Linked DNA regions of Homo sapiens: regions 2 and 3 are each linked to region 1. Evidence: promoter capture Hi-C in human tissues and cell types (Jung and others, 2019). All regions are on one chromosome and are shown on one strand. Each heading gives the region's core, a stretch centred on a gene start or on the middle of the fragment in contact. The rest is flanking DNA. Distances are from core to core; before and after follow the strand shown.

Region 1 (4,788 bases), core at 1,131-3,630:
GCGCTACCCTCAGATGGCCCGGAAGTATGTGGAGAATGGGGCCCAAACCCTGCTTCACCCAGAGGAACCAAAAGATGCTGCACGCCCACACAGCGATGCCCTGCCTTGCTCTGCCCAAACAGGTGTGGGCTGTGACCTCGTGTTGAGGGGTCACACCTGCTATCCCCCTAGACAGAGCATAGCCATAAAACGGCACCCAGCCAGGTGAGCAGGGAAGAGAAACCTCCCCAGGCCCCAGGGCTCTGACCAGTCCCCTGGCCTCACTTGGACAGTAAGAATGAGCGTAGCCCCGGGAAGACAGCAGCCAGGAGGCCTGAAGCCCCTAAACCCCCAATTCCTTGCAACCCAGGCTGGGTAGGCAGGGCAAGAAGTGCCAGCCTCTTGTCAGAGAGGAGTGGTTGGGAGGCCTGGCTCGTTGACTGCGGGACTTTGGGCCAGTCACTTCCCCTCCCTAAGTGTGTGGGGATAATAATAGCACTAAACCCACAGGATTGTTGTAAAGATGACACGAACGGCGATCCTGATGCCCTTAGCTTGGCACAAGTAAGTTTGAAACCAAAAGCTCAGCCCTGGGAGGCCCAGGATCACTTGGGTGGAGATCCCACTTCCAAGACCCCCAAGGGAAGCCCACCCCTGGGTATTTGTATAGAAGTCCTCCCTAGGAGATTCACGCTAAGTAGGGAAGAGGGATTTAGAAACTTCAGACAGATTTTTCACAACAAGGGTAAAAAGAAAAGCGTGTGCATTAACCCTTGATTACCTAGAAGCATTCAACCAAGCAGCATCAGAAGCCGGCCTGCCACGGGGTGGGGCTGTTCTTGTATGTTGGTAGGACAGACCTCTAAGGAAGTAGCTGGTGGGAAACTGTCTCTGAGACCCCCAAAAATGCCCTGATCCACACTAGCCTAAAAGAAGTGCCACCACCGCCACCACCAGACCTCTCCCAAAGCTCCTGGAGCTGAAAAGTTCTAGGTCACTCTCCCAACCTCTTCCTGCGTGGAGTGGGGAGGCCAGGAGGGAAGAGGTTGGGAGAGTTCAAGGTGGGACACAGTAGTGGGGGCTTCAGCTCAAGAGGCAGTCAAAACCTCTTGGGGAAACCACACCCCCTGCCCCCAGTCCTCCCAGAGGAGCTCCAGGGACCTGACTCTGGGACGCAATTCCTGCCGGGAGTTGCCGGTCCCTTAGCCAGGAGGCAGGCAGCACCATCCCATTTTACAGGGTAGGTGATGTTGGCTCGGGGGCATTGGTAGGGCTCCACCCAGGTCTGACAGCCTAGCCTGAGGCTCTCCCTTGCACTAGCTCGAAGTGCACGTAGATCCTGGCTTATTCGTGTTCAGAGTCTCGCCTGGGGCTGCCCGGTCTGCCTTGCGTGGCTCCTGAGAGGCTCCAGTCACTGCAGACTTCCCTCCCTGAAGGCCCCCACTTCGGGGCTGCAGGGGGCCAGGATGCGTCCCTGCCTCTGCCCGGCTTCAGCCCGCTGGGCTGGCGCGGTTCCGGCCCGCGCAGCCCGCAGGTTCATCAATGGCCGAGGCCCAAGGGCCTGAATGGAGGGCACGAACCCGCCCCTTCTTAAAGGCGCCGGCCTCTTGGGCACCCTCCACGATCCTCCCGGCAATCGGGGGCTCCGGGGAGCTCCCCGGCTGGGCAGGTCGAGAAAGGGGGGCCTGGGCCAAAGGGAGGGCGTGCCTGTGGCCTGGAGGAGGTCCTCCCCGATCCCATCCCGTGGCCCTCACCCTCATTCTAGGTTGACGCCCCCTCCCAGCGCTCCCAGCGTAGGGAAGAGACCTGGGCACCCCTTCCCCCAACCAGAGACCCCTCCTCTAAGGACCCGGCTGCTCTCGCCCCACTACCCGGCCGGGGCCCTAGCAGGGGGCGGGGGCGCAGCTGCTCCAGAGGCGGCTCGGCCCCTCCAGCGGCTCCCCGCCCCGCCCGGGATGGGGATCGGGGAGCAGATCCCAGCCGGGGGCGCCTCCCCTCCCTCGCGCGCCCTCCTCCCTCCCACCCGCGCACACAAAGACGACACGCGCGGACCAAGGCGCGTGCGGCCGCTCTCCTTCGGGCAGCGGTGCGCACACAGCGCACGTCCCCGGGGACAGACAGGGGTCCCGGGGGAAGGACCAGGGAGCGAGGAACTGGGTATAAGGAGGCCATACCTACAGGCGCGCAGCTGCGGCCGAGCGGGCTGGGGCGCCGGCTGAGCGCTGCCCGGACCGCGGCCGGGCTCCCCGGGCCCGGTGGCTCATGGCCCGCGGCGGACTGGGCTCCCTCCCTCGTTCACCGCCTCGAAGGCTCCTGCGCTCCTCGCGGTCCCGGCGCGTCCCCCGCGCGGCTCTCTGGCAGCCGAGCTCCGCGCGCTCCAAGCCCAGCCCCAGCGCGGCGCGCCCCTCCGCCCGCGAGGCGCGCGCCTCCCGGCCCCGCCCCGCCCCCGCCCCCGCCGCGAGCCCCGGCCCCGCCCCCCCTCGCGCGTCCTGGCCCCGCCCCCTCCCGCCCCCACTTGCGCCGCTCAGGCCCCGCCCCCGGCCATCCGCGGAGCCCGAGCGGCGCCGGTGGCCGGTGCTTGCTGGCTCCCCGCAGCTGCGGTGCCGAGACTGCCCGGTCCTGGGGCCCGGAGAGAGGGGTTAGGAGCCGGCTCCGAGTCGCCCCATCTGGGCGGGGGTCCCCATGTCGCCGAGCCGGCCCCAGGCCAGGCGCGGGACTCCCACTCCTCCTCGTGGAGGCCACCCCTCGAGCCCGCGGTGGTGGTGGCCCCGGGAGCGCGGAGCGTGGGGCCGGGGGAATGTCCTGCGTGGCGGGTGTATGGGACGCGGACGCCCTCGAAGCGCCCCTCGCTGACGGGTGCTTCGCGGGAGCCGCCGCTGTGGCCAGACTCTCCGCAGCAGGGACAATGGGAGCCTGGAGGAGGCCTGGATGTCGCAACGGAGGAAGTCGACGCCTGGTTCTCATAAATCTCGAGGGCGCCACCACGCCCCCTCCCTGCAGCCCTCCGGTGCGGGAAATCGCCCCCGGGCCACAGGGCGGGACGGCCCCCCTGAGCGCAGTGCCCCCACCACCCAGCCTTCGCTGTGATGGGGGCCTGATGCCACCCGGAGAGGTGTCAGAGATCATAGAGGGGCGATGAGGGGCCACAACCCTGGCACCTTCCTCACCCCTGCCTGGCTCCAGAACTCGCCTGCTTTAGGGCAGAGACCAGTGGGGCTGAGGAAACAGTCCCGCTGGGCTTTGCGGGGCATTTGTAGCCTGACCCCTGGTGCTGAGGGCACAGCGCGGGGGCTCTGGGAGGCTTCCTGAAAGAGGTGCAGGGGGCTCAGCAGGCCTGGAAGGGGTCTGAGAGGGGAGGGAGGGCTTCGGTGGGGGCAGAGGTGTGGAAAGGGCCGCTCAGAGAAGAGAGTAGTCTTGCTCCTGGAGATAGCAGGGGGGGACCCCTGGGTGTCTTCTCCCCTCATCTCCCTCCTTGTCCCCTGCCCCCACCTCTGGCAGTTCTGTCCTGGTCTCCTTGCCAGCCGGAGCTGCCTCCATCTGTCGCCCTCCCGGGCCCAAACTGACCTCTGACTTTTCCCAGAGCCATTTCCCATCTCTAATTTACAGACAAGGGTTTTTATCAAACCCTTCTTAGGGATGGAAAGGTGGGGCTTCCAGAGTTGAAGGTGGAGGGGACAGAGCCTTCACCTGCTGCCCAAAACCCCGGTGCTGCCCTCCACGGGGGCACGGAAGACAGGCAGACCCCTTCCCTGCCCCACATCTCGGCTCTGTTCCCTCCGCAGGACCAGGCCAGCAGACACTTTAATGAAAGCTTCGGCAGTGGGCCAGCCCTCGATCGGAGCTGCACACAGGCCTGCACGCCTGGTTGGGAACCAGGACACCTATGAATGAGGCCGGGAAGGGGGAGGAGGGGGTGCCCGAGAGTGGGAGAAAGGGAAGCTCCATACATGGCCTGGTTGTGGTCTCCACCCTCCTGGGAGAGGGGAGAGCCTGACCCGCGGTGGACTAACCTGGTTCAGAGTAGTGGGCTGAACTCCACTGCTGGGATGATAGCGGCCAGAGAGGGTCCTGAGATGGGAAGCCATGGGCAGGACAATAGCTTGGATCCATCCCCAGGGAGGAAGAAGTGAGGAGGGGCCGGCGGCAGAGCGCCTCGGACCCACAAGGAGGAACTGATGGAGATGTGGAAGTGGCTGTGGGGGTGGAGGGGGCGTGGTTGGCCAAGAGCAGCTGTCGCCTCGCTGGGGATAGGAATGAAGGTCAGGGAGGAAAGGTCCATCCTGGGTCCCTGAGGGCAGGAGGCTTGAGGGGCTTGGAAGAAGTCCTCATGGGGGAGATGAGGGGTGCTGGGACGGGGACCCCAAAGAAAGGCCCCTGGATACACATGCTTTAGACTGTTCAGAACTAAAATGGAGACAGAGGTAGCACAGGGGACCCTGGCCTGGTGGGCTGCAGTGGGGGACCTGGGTTTGCAGCCAGTCTTGTGACAGCTGGACAATGAGTTAATGCACCCACTCCAGACCCAGAGAATGCGCTCCTCTATCTGAGGCTGGGCTGGAGGTGAGGTGGCCCAGAACCTGTGTCTCGGGGGGTTCCCATGCGAGGCTGGTGCTCAGGGAGATTGATGGGCACGGGCTTTGCAGCCCCTGGCAGGCGGGGGCCCATGGGAAAGGGGAGCACAGAAAGGGAAGCAGAGATTCCCCAGGAACTGACGTGGACCAAGACACGTCATACACCCAACCACAGCCCGACAGGTGGTTTTTTTTTTTTTTTTGAGATGGAGTCTCACTCTGTTTCCCAGGCTGGAGT
Region 2 (4,788 bases), core at 1,002-3,501, 450 kb after region 1:
ATGGCTGCACGACATTGTGAGTATACCAAACACCTATGGATTTTAAACTTTATTTATTTATTTATTTATTTATTTATTTATTTATGACACAGAGTCTCGCTCTGTCACCCAGGCTGGAGTGCAGTGGCGAGATCTTGGCTCACCGCAACCTCTGCCTCCCGGGTTCAAGAGATTCTCCTGCCTCAGCCTCCTGAGTAGCTGGGATTACAAGCGCTCACCACACCTGGCTAATTTTTGTATTTTTAGTAGGGACAGGGTTTTGCCATGTTGGCCAGGCTGATCTCAAACTTCTGGCTTCAAGTGGTCTGCCCGCTTCAGCATCCCAAAGTGCTGGGATTACAGGCCTGGCCAGAATTTTAAACTTTGGAAAGGTAAATGTTACATTATATGAATTTTAGCTTTAAAAAAAAGTTACGGGACGGAGGTATTGTATCAAAAGAACTGCTCTCTGCACCAGGGCAACAAGCGGCACGTTTAGAACAGAAAAAAAATTTCTTTTCAAGAGTACTCTGCACCTTCTTGGTCCTCTCTAAAAAAAGGAACTTTTTAAAACTCACTGTGCATGCAAATGTTTTCAGTCTTGCTCTTTCTTTAAAAATAGAAAATAAGGCTGGGCGTGGTGGCTCATGCCTGTAATCCCAGCATTTGGGAGGCCAAGGCAGGTAGATCACCTGAGGTCAGGAGTTCCAGACCAGCCTGGGCAACATGGCGAAACCCCATCTCTACTAAAAATACAAAAATTAGCTGGGCGTGGTGGCGGGTGTCTGTAGTCCCAGCTACTCGGGAGGCTGAGGCGGGAGAATCGCTTGAACCCAGGAGGCGGAGGTTGCAGTGGGCTGAGATAGTGCCACTGCACTCCAGCCTGGGCAACAGAGGGAGACTCCATCTCAAAAAAAAAAAAAAAAAAAAAAAAAAGAAACAATCAGCTTTTCAAATAAATAAGAGGCCTCTCTCTGAAACAGAACACTAGGCACTAAAGGCCATCCCTGGGCACCGCCCTGTGGATTCCACTTCCAGATTCTTCCCTGGAAGAATCGTGACAACAGAAGTCTGGGGATAAGGAAAGGCACGTGGCTGCACAGGGTAGGACAGGATCAGAGGGGCCGGCCCAGCACCCCACCTACTCGGTACTCGTGTGAACACTGTGCGTCCCATTCTAGGACAGACTCTGCACCCCCCGTTAGAAGGAGATGCCAAGTGCCCTGATTTGGGGGGGAAAATTGCAGTGAAGATTTCTTAGCAAAATCGCCTCCTCCTAACACAGAATAAAACCAGTCTGCAAAAAGGATGCAGACTTCCTGGGAAGGCGAAAACCTGAGAGCTCTGTTTTAGGGTCTGATGCCGCAGTGTACAGGTCCCAGAGCCCTGGACTTGGCCTCCTGGAAATACTACAGCACAGTAATGGTTTTTAACCTGACATCCATCTTCTGCTCTCCCACGCCCCGAGGTGACTGTCGCACTTTCTCCCTTCTCCATAAGCTTGCTTTTGGATTCTTTTTTTTTTTTTTTTTTTTTTTTAAGAGACAGAGTCTTCCTCTTGCTCTGTCACCCAGGCTGGAGTGGAATGGCACTGTCATACGTCACTGCAGCTTCCAACTCCTGGGCTCAAGCGATCCTCCTGCCTCAGCCTCCTGAGCAGCCAGGATCACAGGTGTGCACCATCACGCTCAGCTAATTTCTTTCTTTTTTTTTTTTCTGTAGAGACAGGGTCTCACTGTTGCCCATGCTGGTCTTGAACAACTGGGCTCAAGCAATCCTTCCGCCTTGACCTCCTAAAGTATTGGTATCACAGGTGTGAGCCACCATGCTGGGCTAATTTCTTTTCTTTTCTTTTTTTTTTTCTGTAGAGATGGGGTCTCACTGTGCTGCCCAGGCTGGTCTTGAACTCCTGGGCTCTCAAGTGATCCTCCTGCCTCAGCCTCCCAAAGTGTTGGTATTACAGGTGTAAGCCACTGTACCTGGCTTGCCTTTCCGATCCTTGAACGCTTCACGTTCAGTCGAACGCACCCTCCTCCCTTTTTCTCAGGAAAATACATGAATCAGAGAAGAATGCTCTCAGGGAACCAGCCCCGAAGTTACTTTCCCAGCAAGACTTCTCTTTAACCTGCAGACAAGTCCAAGCCCTCCCACCCCTAAGCAGCTCCTCCCTGCACACCACCTCCCTCTCCGGCCCCTCCCTGCATGGCCATGGCGCTGCTCCTGGTAAGATGGGGACCAGAGGCACCGGAGCAGGCCACAGGACAGCCAGCTGACCCCCTGTGCAGCCGCTCCGACGCGCCCAGAAGTGGCAGTCCTAGTACCAAGCAGACAGGAGCCCCCCAGCAGTAGGTACCTGCCTTGCCACCAGGTATCACTATAATTAGTCATTGTCATTGAAGCTGAATGCAATTAATTACATAATTTTGAAAGGTTCGGGTTTATTTCCATTAGAATTACATCATGAAACCAGGGAATTACAAAGGATTACAGACAGAAAGCAAATAGGGATGAATAAAGGAACTCCAAGCCAACTCCCCGCGTGAGTCACGTCCAACGCCGAAGTGTGGGTCCTGTCGCCCCACTTGTGTTTGATAAACCTGTGGGGACTGACTGGGTGGACGTCTGCACGAAGCCCGCCCCTGAAGGTGCCAGCCCCCTGCACCGCAGGTGCTGGGGACACAGTGGGCTCGCTGGATGTGCCATGTCGGTGGGGGACACTGATGACCACACCCTCCACAGGCTGTTCCCTGCCCCTGCTGTTCCCCAACCTCAGTTTTTCGCACCCCTCTGGATGCCTGTGGAAATGCCACTCACCCAGCCCCATCTCTCCCATCACCCCTCAGTGGTCCCTGCCTGAAATGCCAGGGCCAGGCACACTGAGTCTGGCACGGCCACAGCCTGGCATCCTCTCACTGGGCCATGACCACCACACCCTCCTGGTTCCATTATCACCCCTCCCTCCTCACTCTAGCCCGCCTTCCATGTGGGGCTTCCAGAAGGATCCTCTAAGACACACCCCAACAACTGAACCATCCCTCTTCAGTTTAAAAATCGGGGCTAGGCATGGCAGCTCAGGCCTGGAATCCCAGCACTTTCGGAGGCTAAGGCAGGAGGATCGCCTGAGGCCAGGAGTTCAAGACCAGCCTGGGCAACACAGTGAGACCCCCCCATCTCTACAAAAAATACAAAAAAGTTAGCCTGGCATGGTGGCGCATGCCTGTAATTCCAGCTACTCGGGAACCTGAGGTGGGAGGATAGCTTGAGCCCGGGAGGTCAAAGCTGCAGTGAGCTATAATCACACCACTGTACTGGAGCCTGGGCGACAGAGCGAGACTCTGTCTCTAAATAATAATAATAATAATAATAAAGTTATTTCTCAGGGCCTTCAGAAGACAGAAGTGACTCTGTGGGGCTTTGTGTATCAGTCCTGCTCCGTCTGTTCCCAGGCCACTGGGCACTCACTTATTCCTTGCCTTTGTCTTCCATCCCCCTTGCAAGAATGTCAGTTCCGGCCAGGCATGGTGGCTCACGGCTGTAATCCCAGCACTTTGGGAGGCTGACGTGGGTGGATCACCTGAGGTCAGGAGTTCGAGACCAGCCAGGCCAACATGGCAAAACCCCGCCTCTACTAAAAATACAGAAAATTAGCCCGGCGTGGTGGTGCACACCTGTAATCCCAACCATTCAGGAGGCTGAGACAGGAGAATCACTTGAACCCAGGAAGCAGAGGTTGCAGTGAGCCGAGATTGCACCACTGCACTTTAGCCTGGACGACAAAGCAAGACTCCATCTCGAAAAAAAAAAAAGAATGTCAGTTCCTTAAGGGCAAGGATTCCCTACTGTCTGGTCACTCAATCCCTATGCTAGAATGCTGCCCGGCACACAGGAGACACTCAATAAATGCTCAACAACAGCCTAAGGAAGTCTTTGGAGCAAGACAGCCAGAGTCCATCTTCCCAAACCCCTGCCCTGTTCACACAGCAGACACACCCAACCCGCTGCCATTGGACACCTCGCGATACCCCAATGTGTCCTGCATTCTCTGACCAACCAGCAGGCCAGAAGTATATTTCTTTGGGTAACCCAGGGGCTTGAACAGGATCCATTCGAGTCATCAGGTACCATGGAGTGTGCTCAGAACACGAATGGATGCACGGCCCCAACAACCTATGAAAAAAATGAATCACCCCAAAACACACGGAACTGCCAACAACTTCACTCGAATGTGCTGTGTTATTTCTGAGACCAGGGCACATTTTTGCATATTTTGTCTTTAAATTTATAAATTTTTAACAAAACAAAGTGCATCATTATAAAAAAATCAGGCAGGCAAGAGTTATCTGGGCCAGGCGTGGTGGCTCACGCTTATATAATCCCGGCACTTTGGGAGGCTGAGGCAGGAGGATCACTTGAGCCTAGGAGTTTGAGACCAGCCTGGCCAACATACTAAGACCCTGTTTGTATAAAAATATGTAAAAAAAATTAGCCAGGCATGGTGGGGCACACCTGTGGTCCCAGCTACAAAGGAGGCTGAGGCAGGAGGATCACTTGAGCCTGGGAGTTCGCGGTTGCAGAGAGCTATGATCCCACCACTGCAGTCCACAACAGATCAAGACCCTGTCTCAAAACAACAACAACAAAAGCATCTGAATCCAGAGTGGCCCAAAACCTCAGTTTTCCAGTCCAATGATAATTCCCCGAGGAAAAGAAGCTAAGATCTCAGGGATGTCGCTGTGACCAGGCTGTTTCAGGCCAGTCGGCCACTGGTACATGTCTTATGAAATCAGTCTCTTAGAAAACACACGCCCA
Region 3 (4,788 bases), core at 1,290-3,789, 430 kb after region 1:
ACCACATTCGGCTAATTTTTGTATTTTTAGTAGAGACGGGGTTTCACCATGTTGGCCAGGCTGGTCTTGAACTCCTGACCTCAAGTGATCCTCCCACTTCGGCCTCCCAAAGTGCTGGGATTACAGGCGTGAGCCACCACCCCCAGCCCTTACTGTTAAATGACCATGATGAAGCTGATTTCTACAAATACACCAGGAGGAAGAGCTAAGGGGGGAAAAAAATTCCCTGCAAAATAAAACGAAACAAAGCTCCTTGCAATTATGCAAAGCTATAGCACAGCTAAGTTATTCTGAGCTAACTCAACCTAGAGGGGTGACGGCCTGGCAAAGGGGGTCATCCGACCCAGCCAGACAAGCTCCGTCTTTCCCTTCCTGCTTCACTCATTTCTGAAAAGAACAGTTCCAGTTTAAAGTAACCCAGCAAATTCATCCTCAACGGGTGAAACCCCATCCTCGCTTCACCTGACTCAAAGCGTGCGCTGCTTTAATTCAAAACAGCTGACTTCGGAGGCCTACAGTCCTCATTTTTCATCCGTCCCCATCATACCAAAAGCAGACTATGTAAGTAAGAGCGGTGAAAGGCCTTTCTGTGCTGAAAACATATTTTATGTATTGAAAAGTACTTGGTGGCCACGCATCTTAACTCCTGAAGAAGAAAATAGTTATTTCTTTTTATTTCTGCAGATATTTCAAAAATATGATAGGTATTGAATGCTAGGCCTGTGACAGGCAAAATGCCCTGTAGGAGGTGCCCGGGTTTCAGAGTCAAGCACAGCCCCCAATCAGATAAGCAGAGGCCTGGGAGAGGGAGGACATCAGGACCCACGTGACGCTAACACCGGGCGGGGTAAGGGCAGGAACATGGCGCAGGCCCAAAAGTGGCCCGCGGCGGGTGGTACGGGGCAGGACAGAGTCCACCTGCTGGAGAGGATCTGAAGGGCCTCGTCCTAACAGAAACAGGAACCGGAGCTGGGCAGGACTTCAGAGGCTGAAGGATGGGAGAGGGAGGGTGCGCCCAGGAGGAGGCACAGCTTGAGCAGAGGCGTGGCTGCATGACCGCGGAGGGAGGGTTCACACCCGGGGCCTGTGGTACGGCTGGCAGGCGTGGGAGAGCCAAGGTGGGGACACAGAGAGGTCAAGGAGGCCGAGGCCGAAAAGGGACCACAGAATTTGGCTACAAGAAAGCAGTTTCAGTTTAACGATGACAAGGGAGCCCGAGTGAAGAGGAAAACCTGTCAACTCCTCGTGAAAGTCGGGAGGGTTTCTGCGTAGAAAAAAACAGCGTTCAGCAGCTCAGTTGGCTGCCGTGAAGTCATCAGAACTAGAGGAAGAGTTGGACTTGCTCTAGTGAGGACAGCTTTTGAAGTCACTAACCACAAGGAGGAAGCCTTCCCCTCTGGGCCTGCAGGAAACAGATTGCGTGGCTTTGTCTGTCCTGGCTGGGGAACGCATGACACGCTGAAGGGTTTTCCAGCTCTAGGGAAGAAAATTCATCTTTCTGTAAAGTCCACTTCGTCTTCCATTATCTACCAGACTTCTTGATGGGACCATTTTTAGAGCCTTCAGTGAAAGAATGGAAAACACTAACTTGGATAAACAATTAAGAGTAGGGAGGGAAATAGGTGAAGACGCAACTCTGATGAAATAAACAAACCGCAACCGTGGAATAACATTCTGGTTATTATGGGTCGTGATTAACGGCTCCCTGCGTTGATGGCTGAAAACTTGTGCTTTACTGCACACTTCCAGCAGAATTTAGCTGCTTTTTTCTTTCTTGTTTCCTTTTTTTTTTTTTTTTTTTTTTTTGAGACAGGGTCTCACTCTGTCACCCAGACTGGAGTGCAATGGCTTGATCATAGCTCACTGCAGCCTTGACCTCCTGCTGGACTCAAGCGATCCTTCAGCCTCAGCCCCCAAGGAGCTGAGACTACAGATGCACGCCACCACACCTGGCCAATTTTTCTTATTTTTTGTACAGACGGGTTCTTGCTATGTTGCCCAGGCTAGTCACAAACTCCTGGGCTCAAGTGATCCTCCCGCCTCAGCCTCCCAACGTGCTGGGATTACAGGCGCTAAACCAGCACTTAAGCTGCATTTTTTTTTTTTTTTTTGAGCTGGAAACTCCTTCTACCGCCCAGGCTGGAGTGCAATGGCACAATCTTGGCTCACTGCAACCTCCGCCTCTCGGGTTCAAGCGATTCCCCTGCCTCAGCCTCCCGAGTAGCTGGGATTACAGGCGTCTGCCACTGCGCCCAGCTAATTTTTGTATTTTTAGTAGAGACGGGGTTTCACCATGTTGGCCAGGCTGGTCTGGAATTCCTGACCTCGTGATCCACCCGCCTTGACCTCCCAAAGTGCTGGGATTACAGGCATGAGCCACCGCGCCCGGCCTTAAGCTGCTTTTTAACACATGGGGAGAACACAGAGAAAGTACCAAAATGAATGTTGTAACTCAATTCTAAAATACGTGAAAATATACTGAAGACTCTTCCATTGCATCATCTTGTAAATTCAGGTGAAATCCTGCCTGTCCCTACCTAGGCCTCATTTTCCTTATCAACCTATGAGAAACGACCAGGCATTTCTTGGGTCCCCAGCACCCTGGAGAAAGAGACCACTCGGAGGACACGGCCCCTCACCTCATGGTCCCCCTGGCAGGCAAGGCCACCGGGCCAATTAATGGAAGTCAGTGACCAGCAACTGGAAGGGCTACAGGGTTTGGGAGGAGATAGAGCCTCTGAGGTTGGAAAGGCGGCCAGGGTTTCACTGGGAGGCAGGGCCTGGGCCAGGCTCCAAGGGACGGGGTCCAGCCCCCAGCAAAGCATCAGCACACACTTCAGCAGGAGGTAAGATGCCACGGCACTGGGGAAATTTTTAAGCAAGAGGGAAGAGGATGCATTAACAGAGAAGAGGGAGGTCACCATTGTGGGGCATTGCAATCCAAATTGAGTCCAGGCCGGGCGAGGTGGCTCACACCTGTCATCCCAGCACTTCGGGAGGCTGAGGTGGGAGGATCACTTGAGGTCAGGAGTTTGAGACCAGCCTGGTGAAACCCCACCTCTACTAAAAATACAAAATTAGCTGGGTGTGGTGGCACATGCCTGTAGTCCCAGCTACTTGGGAGGCTGAGGCACAAGAATCGCTTGAACCCAGGAGGCGGAGGTTGCAGTGAGCCAAGATGATGCCACTGCACTCCAGCCTGGGTGATAGAGTGAGACTTCATCTCAAAAAGAAAAAAAAAGAAAGAAAACTGAGTCCATTTTTAGTCCTTTGAAGTGTGCAGGTGTGTGTGACTAAAAACAGGCAGAACCATCACTGTTGAGAATGGGGTGCCACAGAAATGGGAGACAGGGTGTCATTTCTTACTCCAGCAATCGGAGGAGGCAACTGTTAGGAACAGCCCCCACTGGCTGAGCAGTGGCCAAGAGGCACCTCACTTTATGGAGGGGGTCCCTTCCAAACACTAAGAACTTAGGAAGTTCTCGCCACCCAGAGATAAGGGAATGGAGATGCCCAACCCCTAAATGATGGAGGCAGGATTTGAGCCCAGGCCTCTGGTGCCAAAGCCCCCACTGCTTCCTCATCCCATCACCACCAAACAGGCTCCTATGCTTAGGAGACTGGCTTTCTGAGCATTTCATAAAGTTGCTCTGCAGACAGACTCCAAACTTGTGTTAATCATATGTTACCCGCTGGCAGCCCGGCTAGAAGGCGCTCACAAAAGATGACTTTGAAAGACAAAACCAAAACCGAAGTGTTTCCTATGAAACTGGTATCATCACACACAGCCTTGCCCCATGCACACATTTCAGAATTGTCCGACATCCAGTTCAACATGGCAGACGATCCTGTTTGCTTTGGAACAGAAAGGTATAAACTCACCTGACAAAGAGGACAGGAAAGCAAGAACAAATGAAAAGCCCCCAAAATCTCAGAAGCTGGAAAGCGCTGGAAAGCACTGGAAAGCCGAAGCCGCCTTTCCAGACAAGCCTCAAGATGGAGCAGGCCGCCTGCAGCAAGCAAGCTCATTCGAGCTGCAGGACTTGGAGGCCGGGCAGGTGTGCAAAATGCCACTGCGGTCAGGTCCCTCCTGCACTGTGGGCAGAAGACTGGGGTTTCTCATGACCATGGGCAGGGGGCTGAGTGAATATCCCAGCACATGCCCCAGCCTGGTGCCTAGAAGACAGGTGGTCAGACTAACAGTTCCCAACTGCACCACCCAGCAGGAACACTGAGGGCTCCTTGCTAGAGAAACTGACCAGTCCAAGAGAATGAGCCACTGATACCCATGCCTGGGGGCTCCCCGCAACTAGACACCTGGGTTAATTACTTACGGTGGGGGCCACCAAAACTGCTCTTTACCCCGACACACACACACACACACACACACACACACACACACACCCTTTCTATTGCCATGCTCTGATATATGAACAAACAACAACACGTCACTAGGCATTTGAGGAAACCTCTAACTGGGACCAAAACAAAGAGGGAAACGAGGAAAACAGACAAAGCGACAGGACAAAGGCTAAAGAAATTTGGGTCTAGCCGCACAACTGGGTTTAAGCATCAGAGAAAATAAATGGACCACAGTTATAACAGACAACCTCACAGATAATGTTGCAGTAACTCAAGTTCAAAAGGCAAATCCTGCAAGTCTATTGCAGAATAATACCATTTTTATAGAGCTCAAACTCAGGGAAGAGTAATCATATACTACTTAAGCATCTATTCATGGGTGCAGAAAATACATTATTTTAGGCAAGAGCATAATAAATACACTAC

Evidence for each region. Contacts are between HindIII fragments. The study calls those that stand out against the background at their distance.
Region 2: a fragment that was not itself captured here is called in contact with the fragment with the promoter of SH2B2 in region 1 in 2 of the 25 tissues and cell types used here (dorsolateral prefrontal cortex and spleen).
Region 3: a fragment that was not itself captured here is called in contact with the fragment with the promoter of SH2B2 in region 1 in 2 of the 25 tissues and cell types used here (H1 embryonic stem cells and dorsolateral prefrontal cortex).

The regions. Positions count from the first base shown.
Region 1 is chr7:102,284,460-102,289,247 of GRCh38, reverse strand. It overlaps SH2B2 (SH2B adaptor protein 2), which reads right to left and starts at 2,380. Exons shown (of 9, transcript NM_001359228.2): 1 at 2,154-2,380. RefSeq lists an enhancer at 633-722 and silencers at 1,873-2,412, 2,483-3,062. The HindIII fragment of the contact is 12,688 bases long and covers 1,728-4,788 here.
Region 2 is chr7:101,830,293-101,835,080 of GRCh38, reverse strand. All of the region lies in intron 1 of CUX1 (cut like homeobox 1), which reads right to left. Among named protein-coding and RNA genes, the nearest start is that of CUX1, 15 kb to the right of the region's middle. RefSeq lists an enhancer at 2,652-3,293. The HindIII fragment of the contact is 8,098 bases long and covers 1-4,788 here.
Region 3 is chr7:101,853,201-101,857,988 of GRCh38, reverse strand. The region is part of intron 1 of CUX1 (cut like homeobox 1); the gene reads right to left. Among named protein-coding and RNA genes, the nearest start is that of CUX1, 38 kb to the right of the region's middle. RefSeq lists an enhancer at 938-1,067. The HindIII fragment of the contact is 8,031 bases long and covers 1-4,788 here.